Linked DNA regions of Homo sapiens: region 1 is linked to region 2. Evidence: promoter capture Hi-C in human tissues and cell types (Jung and others, 2019). All regions are on one chromosome and are shown on one strand. Each heading gives the region's core, a stretch centred on a gene start or on the middle of the fragment in contact. The rest is flanking DNA. Distances are from core to core; before and after follow the strand shown. Region 1 overlaps ARHGEF28 (Rho guanine nucleotide exchange factor 28). Region 2 holds the start of ARHGEF28 (Rho guanine nucleotide exchange factor 28).

Region 1 (3,777 bases), core at 453-2,952, 180 kb before region 2:
TTTCCATATTGGTACTGTCACCAAGTCTGGCCGTCAATCATCAGGATTTTGGTGCCTTTATAGCTCCGATCTAAACTTTCAGTCCACCTCAATAGAGCTGGTGACTAATTTACCACAAACCAACAGTTCTTGCCGTCTCCCTGAACAATTCTCCAGTAATTAGCATTCAGGAGAAGCTCATTACTGCCTCCCCATAAATCGTGGCACTGCTCAGGCTCACTTCTCCGCTTCCTATAGGCACATAGATATCCATGCCCCAAATAAGCTCAAGCACAACAGCCGAGATCTGCAGTGGAAAAAAAGGATATCCCAAATGTTATCAGGCAGTCTCTTTTAAGCATTTCTTTTAGTAGAAACAATAGCAAGAAATGTTTGTTTTGTTTTGTGAGGTCACCTGATGTCCAAATAAACTAAACGACATTGGAAACATACAATATGAGGATCCATTAAGTCTGCAGACTTAGAAGGTGACAGTATGTGTCTTAATTAACATTCATTTCTTTGCTTCAGTTATTTCCTAAATTGTCGGTACTACTGTGCCACGCTGTGTAAGAAAATAGCTGCATAGCCTGCTCCATGGAAGCTAATCCTGTCTGATTGGGTAGGGGTTGAGTGAGGCATACAGGGAGAAGAGGAGAAAGGGGAGAGACCACTTAATTTCAAATTTAAATCAAAATCAGAATTACATAAATCACTACTGTGTTTTTATATAGTTTGTCACATAAACATACAACTAAAACAAAATACAACTAGAGTATAGTTACAAACATTGCAACTAAGTGGAAAGAAATACTGATACATTTTCTATTTTGTGGCTTTTTTTTTTTTTTTTTTGAGACAGGCTCACTCTGTCGCCTAGGCTGGAGTACAGTGGCAGGATCTCGGCTCATTGCAACCTCTGCCTCCTGGGTTCAAGCAATTCTCCTGCCTCAGCCTCCTGAGTAGTTGCGTCTACAGGCATGCACCACCACACCCGGCTAATTTTTGTATTTTTAGTAGAGATGTGTTATTTCTACGTCAGCCAGGCTGGTCTCGAACTCCTGACCTCACGTGATCCACCCACCTTGGCCTCCCAAAGTGCTGATTACAGGCGTGAGCCACCATGCCAAGCCTGTGGCTTTTAATTAGGTGAATAAGTACGTATTATTCTCAACCAGCTGGGTATAATTATAAGGATATGTAACTTTCAGCCCTTATATCCAGTAAAAGAGTTTTAGTCCATATGGATCTTTAATTAGAAAATATACCAAATCTTGTGGAAGAGCATTTACATTCACTCTTGATTTTAGAGCACAGAATGGTGCCTAGGACGCTGTAGGCAATTGCTGAAAGAATGAATGATTTACAATAGTCGGTCTGCCATGTCAATGACCTTTACCCTGTGGATGAAGAACCTTTACATGACAACTGATTAAAAACACATATTTTGACAAAAACATCTACAAGAACTATTATAAAGTGTTTAAAATATATATTTGTATTTTATTTAGCACAACAGTTGTAAAAAGGACAGTACTTCTGGGTAGAGAAAACCCATTGTTCTGAGGCTGCAGACAATGATGGGAGTGTGCATAGGTCTATGGCCTTTTGGCTGCTTCTAAGTTGTCTGTAGACCAAGGAAAGGGGACCTTCACTAGTGTGGACAATCACCAAACCAAAATAGTGTTGGATCAGGAGATACTGTTATTTTTCTTCAGCTCTACTTGCTACCATTAAAGAATCCTTTGAAATGCAAAATTTCCAAGGCGGTTAGAAATACTAAAGTCCTCATCCTGAATTGGTAGGAGTGGGTTTTGTAGCTCCTTGCTACACATGCTAAACCTCTACTATACCATCCCCTTAACTAAAGGTATAGGAATACTATACTTCTTACAGTTGACTGATGCTATGGGAAAGAGAAAGACATGTTTCTTATTAAATTACAAACAGAACAAAAGTAATACAATCTATAGGGGCTCCCTAACTTGTTTTATTAAGTTGGTCAGAAATGTGACAAAGCGTTCAGAAGACTACAAATGTAGAGAAAGCAGAATCGGGGGCAGAATTTCTCAGAGGCATCAGAATGGAGGAAGGGGCCTGAGGGAAAACTGTTCATTTTAAATGCAGATTATGAGATTCCCATCCCAGATGTGTTGAATCAATCTCTCTGAGGGTGGCCCAGGAATCTGCAATAATTTACAACAAGCACCACCCCTATGCCAAGCAATTCTCATGCCTATTGAAGTTTTAGAGTCACTCAACTAGGAGGTAGATAAACCCCACATCAGCAAGTTACTGGAATAGGCTGTTCCTCCCGTGACTACCAGTGACAGGTCAGAAGAACTTCAGGGCAATATAGACAAAGAGAGAGATGAAAAAAACTGCATAAAAAGTATTTCTATTAGCTGAGATTCCAGACAGATTCATCCTAATCTTATTCTTCCAAATGCAGTCCTTGTTGACCAGTTACATATCAAGTGATTCTTGATGTCAAAATTATTCTGAAACAGTATTGAACGACCTAACCAATACATGTGAGACACCCAACTGACATATGTGAAAATAACTCAGATATCAAAAGAAGAGACTTTCCAATGTACTCATTTGCTTTACCATTTATCAGTGTTTTCTAAAGAATAAAATGATTTCTACTGACTAGCCATGAACAGTTAACATACAACTAGAAAGTGAAGTCAAAAATAGTGTTTGCACAGCCCTTTTTATTTTTAGGCCAGCTTACCTCCTTGCTCACCAACACGTTTCTTCTGAATGTGGATCATTTATCCTCCTTGTTTTCTATAGTAATTGAAGTGGGTTTTTTTTCTGTAGTTTATCAATATAATTGCATTTAAATTAATTCAAGATGCTATTTACATCTCATTCATATTCAACAGGTGACTGTTACTGGCTGATTGTAATTGCAGACAGCAGAATTCAATGATATATCCCCCAGGCCACCCTTTCACCATATATCATACAACCATTACCATGTAAGAGTATGAATGCTTTCATGGAAGATACATTCGCCTGAATGTGCCTCCTTTAATTACAAAATTCTTCACCTAGAAAAGAACTTCCATGAGGTTATAATTATTCAGAGAAGATACTGCTGCCTTGAAGTTTCAGCTTTCTAAAAGACCCACACAGAAAGGAAACTTTCCTTGATCTTCATTTAGACATTAACCTGCCTTTCAACCTTGTAAATCTCAAAGAAGTATTTACATTTTGATCTGAATTACAGTATTTGCACAGTTTTCTCATCCTCCAGGGGGACCCAAAATTTTTTGTGGGCAAGAACTGTGTCTTACATTTTTAGTGCACCACAAGCTAAAAAGAAAAATCATGGGTTTGGGAGACACAGATATCCGGGTTCAAATAATGGCTCCGTCAGTTAGTGGCCCTAACCAAGTCATTCCCATTTTCTGAGCCTTAGTTGTCTCATAGCGAATGGAATCATATCTATACTTTAAAGGGTTATTGTGAGGATCCAGTGAGATTATAACAGTGAAGAACTTAACAGAAGTAAATTTTCAACAAGCTTTAAATGTTGAATGTAAATAAAATTTCCCTTTCATATATTATTCTTCTGTTATAGACACTGAAACAGTTTTTTGTGTTTTGTTTTTTTTTTGAGACAGAGTCTTGCTCTATCACCCAGGCTGGAGTGCAGTCACATGATCTTGGCTCACTACTACTTCCGCCATCCAGGCTCCAGTGATTCTCCTGTCTCCTCAGCTTCCCAAGTAGCTGGGATTACAAAACATGCACCATGGCCAGGCTGGTCTTGAATTCATGACC
Region 2 (4,025 bases), core at 1,416-3,915:
CAAAATGCTCTGTGATACAGGACCTGACCTACACTTCTTAAGCAAGAAAAATATCTCAAAGCCCAGCTTTGCCTAAGTAGAGATGTGGACTCAAGTCTGACAGGGTGGCATATTTACAGCACAACTTTAGCATGGCAGAATTCCCTGAATTTGGTGCACTTCAAATGTAACACTGTTTTTACATCCTCAGTAGGAGTTGCCCAGGTTGACCCACCTCTTCATAACAAATCTTATTTAAGGTTATGGGCGGGGGCCGGTGGGGGGATCCCAGAGCTACTCTGCTTCACTAAAAGCAACATAAATACAAATGCAATTACACAAAACCTACACAAACCAGATCTGTCATATCTGATTAGTAAATAAAAGCATAATAAAATTATAGTCAGCCTAGGTAATTTAGGCTCTGTTCAGTACCATCCTAGCCATGCCCAAGTGGTGAGGCTTTTCCAACATTTATATCATGAATCTTTTTTTCTTGGAATTCAGTCCTTGGTCATAAACTGGCAGGACTTGTTGGAGCTTGGGTACCAATATAGTGGTGTACAGAATGTTTAATATAGAAGTAATAGTATATGCTGCAATTTGTTTTAATACCTACTTAGAACACATAGTCTTTTCTCACGGGGCATACTAAAGGAGGTCATGTATCAGAGCTCACCTGAAATTCCTGCCCAATTTAAGTCTTAGCCACAAGTGTAGTTTCTTATAAGAACACAATAAGAAAACATTCCAAACTCTTCTGCAGTACTCACATAATTAAAAAAAAAAAGTATGAAACCCACCCAAGTGAGGCTTCTGAGACATTTCATAGAAACTTAGTTATTAACTACTATTTTTCTTCTTTACCTTTAAGTGTTTATAAACTGCTTAAAGGACAGTTGGGTACTTCAGAGGAAAGTCTAATGACACGCCTGCTATACAACCTGTTCTTAGTTGGCCAGATTGTGTGGTTTTGATAAGGAAAAAAAAAAAGTCAAAAGCAGGACAAACACTGATTCTCTGTTCTCCATTCTCCCATTACCCAAGACATTCATCTGAGTCACACACTCTATAGCTAGCTCTGAGCCTCAGTTTCCCTAACCATTAGCTATAAGATCTGATGCTAGCCAAATTCCTATTTGATCAAAGTTAATCAGCCCAATAATCACATATAGAGTCCACATCAGAACATTACATTGAAATACTATGTTGTATTAAAAATTCCAAAGGGTTTTGCCATATTCATCTCTTTTCTGCAAATACTCCAAAGGGGTTACTTTGGCTATTAATCAAGATTAGGCAAATACCCATGTGCTTTAGGAATGTGTAACTAAAAACCCAGGACAGATCTAGAGAAACCTTCCCAGGTTTCCCAGAAGTCATCACTACGCTTGGATTGTCATGTACAAAGTAGATGCCACAGAACCTAACAAGGGTAGGTCCTTGATTTGTTTTTGCAGTGAAAACAGGATTTCACTTACACCTGACAGCTTCAGGGCCTAGGAACACAAGATAACAACGCTTCAGAAAGCCAGGGGCCCCATGGAACCCCAAATGATCAGTTCTTTATAAACGAAAATTAAAGATCTTACTTTCTTTGGATTTTGCCCAATTGGTGTGGTCCGTGGTGAACCTCTATAACTCCTGGTGTGAGGAGATGTGTGGATACCCAGGCAGGGGTCAAGGCGGGAGAAGCCGCACAAACACAGATGTTGCCACTGTTCCTCGGCCCACCCAGCCAACCAATGCGGGGACGCTGTGGGCCTATAGAGATGGATTCTTTCTTAGAAATCTAACTGGTCTCTGGGAAACCAAAGCTGGGTATCCAGGGCCGCCTGAGCACCCAGTTTCCATACAGCCCTCGACCCAAATGGTGCTTTCTTGGCCAAACACCGGCCTGTCATTCGGAAAACCTAAGCACGGGAAGGCTGGGGCACCACCACATACACCCCGGGTATTTAAGGGGAAACAAATCCATAAAATAAGCGTAAGGAGTCCCACATAATTCTGACCACCTTTCCCAACCAAGGTAACCATAAATGCCTTTTGAAACACAGCAGATGCTTCCACACGAGTAAGTGGTAGTGCGTGTGTCCTGAGCTTGCGTTCCGTCTGCATTCTGCGGTCCTGGCCCTGCCAAGCACCCTCAGTCCCGGAGCTGAAGCATGGATGGGAAGGGCGGACACCAACTCTCGACGTTCTCCCTTCTCCACCGCAGGAGTGCTGTTTATTTCCCTGTCTCCCGAAGGACACTGGCGGGGCTTTCACCCGCCCAGCCCCCGGCTCTCAGTGCGCCCGAGCGACCCCGCGCTCCGCAGCTGCCGCCGCCGCACGAGGCTGCGCCGCCCTCTCCACTTGTTGCCGCTCCCGAGGGAGCGGGAGGCGGCGCCCAGCCCTCGCGCCGCAGCGCCTGCAGCGGTTCCCCGGTCACCTCTGCTGACCCTCGCATCCCTGGGGACCCTGGAGAAAGTGGCCCTGCGGATGCGAACTCAGGTGGACAAACTTTTCCGCCCAGAGCTGCAGGGAAACGCAGACGATGGAGTCCCAAAGAGCATTTACCTGGAGCGATGGCCCCGCAGCCTCCAGAACCCAGGCGAGGCTCTGCCCCCGCGCCCTGCCTGAGGGCGCCTCGGAACGCGCCCCCAGCCAGCCGCCGCCCGGAGTCCGGAAGGCTCTCCCCGGCGATGCCAACGCCTGGCGGCGGCCGGGCTGAAGCCAAGGTTTAGGGGGTGGAGCCGCGGCCGCGCGCCCGGGCCCGGCTGGCTGCGCCAGCAGCGGGTGCCGCCCCCGCTCCCCCCGCTCCCCCCGCGCCTCCCCGCTGCCACTGGATCCCCGCCTGCCCACCTCCCGGCCCGGCTCGCGGCGGCCGCATCACATGGCGAGGCCCGCCCGCCGGCCGCGCCCGACACCGGCTCCAGGAGGAAACCTGAAGCTGCCCCTACCGCGCTGTCTCCGCCAGCCCCCTCCCGCTGCGGGGCTGCGGCCGTTGGCCTCCGGAGATCGGAGGCGCGGAGGCTGGCGCGGACCTGGCGGGCCACAGGAGTGCCAGTTGCGCCCCGGGCGCCCCCACGCCTTGGCGCCTCCCGAGGGAGGCGCTGGGCTGCCCGCTCGCGAAAGGAGTTGTGCCAGGCCCGAGGGAGGCTCAGGCTGTTCCCAGCCAAAAGCCACCACACCCGTGACATAATACGGCCCGGGTCTATTACAATAGGAAATATTATTTTTAAAAACAGCATTTGCCCTCTTATTTGAAGCTCATGTTCCCTGGCCGAGAGCTTTGCAAGCTGCGATTCCCTTCACGTTTATGCACGCAAGTGGCTGCAAGTCTTAATTCAAAAACGTATGAAAACCATAACCACTTTTACAATGAACAGCAATGTGAAGGGACTTCCTTATCCTCCAAAGCAGTTTTCCTCTTAGATGTGATGACAGCCCCAAGAGCAGAAGCCAAGCCTCTTCATCAGCCAGGCTCTCATATACAGACTTAAGACCATTATTGCAGCTTTAAAGGTAAAATTGCCCATCTGAGACTGCTGTGGCAGTAAGTGTTATAGTTAAGACTATTTGTAAGGAAATTAGTATTGAAATATAAAGTTTCTAATAAAATTTATAAAATCACCTTGAGTCTCTGCTTTGTTTTTCCTTTGAAGACTGGCTACGCACAGAACCATAACAAAGGTGTGGCCCGAGGAAGCTGGCCACCAAGATCCCAAGCCAGAATGGAGCCCAGCTCCCAGGCTGCCACCACCACTTCTCCTGGGCCTGGGCCTTTTCTGTCTCCCTTCCAGCCGCCACCTTCCCCAGCCCACCTTGCTGATACGAATGCTGAGAAAGGCTGAGATTAGCAAGAGAAAGACCATCGTGTGTCTGAATGCCTTAGCCCTGTTCCAAGGCAAAGGCTGCAATTCCGCCTTGGGAAAGGGACCCCAACACTGGCATTGCACTCCTGACCTGGGCTGTCATCCCAGCTGATTCCACCCTCAGCCCCACAGAGCTGTGAACTCAAGGCCTGGCCTCAGGCGCTGCCACAAAAAAAAAAAAAGAAAAAA

What was found. Contacts are between HindIII fragments. The study calls those that stand out against the background at their distance.
Region 1: a fragment that was not itself captured here is called in contact with the fragment with the promoter of ARHGEF28 in region 2 in 1 of the 25 tissues and cell types used here (H1 embryonic stem cells).

What each region holds. Positions count from the first base shown.
Region 1 is chr5:73,809,038-73,812,814 of GRCh38, reverse strand. The region is part of intron 9 of ARHGEF28 (Rho guanine nucleotide exchange factor 28); the gene reads right to left. Among named protein-coding and RNA genes, the nearest start is that of ARHGEF28, 180 kb to the right of the region's middle. The HindIII fragment of the contact is 5,459 bases long and covers 1-3,777 here.
Region 2 is chr5:73,624,836-73,628,860 of GRCh38, reverse strand. It overlaps ARHGEF28 (Rho guanine nucleotide exchange factor 28), which reads right to left and starts at 2,665. Exons shown (of 36, transcript NM_001177693.2): 1 at 2,539-2,665. RefSeq lists a silencer at 2,867-2,956. The HindIII fragment of the contact is 7,824 bases long and covers 1-4,025 here.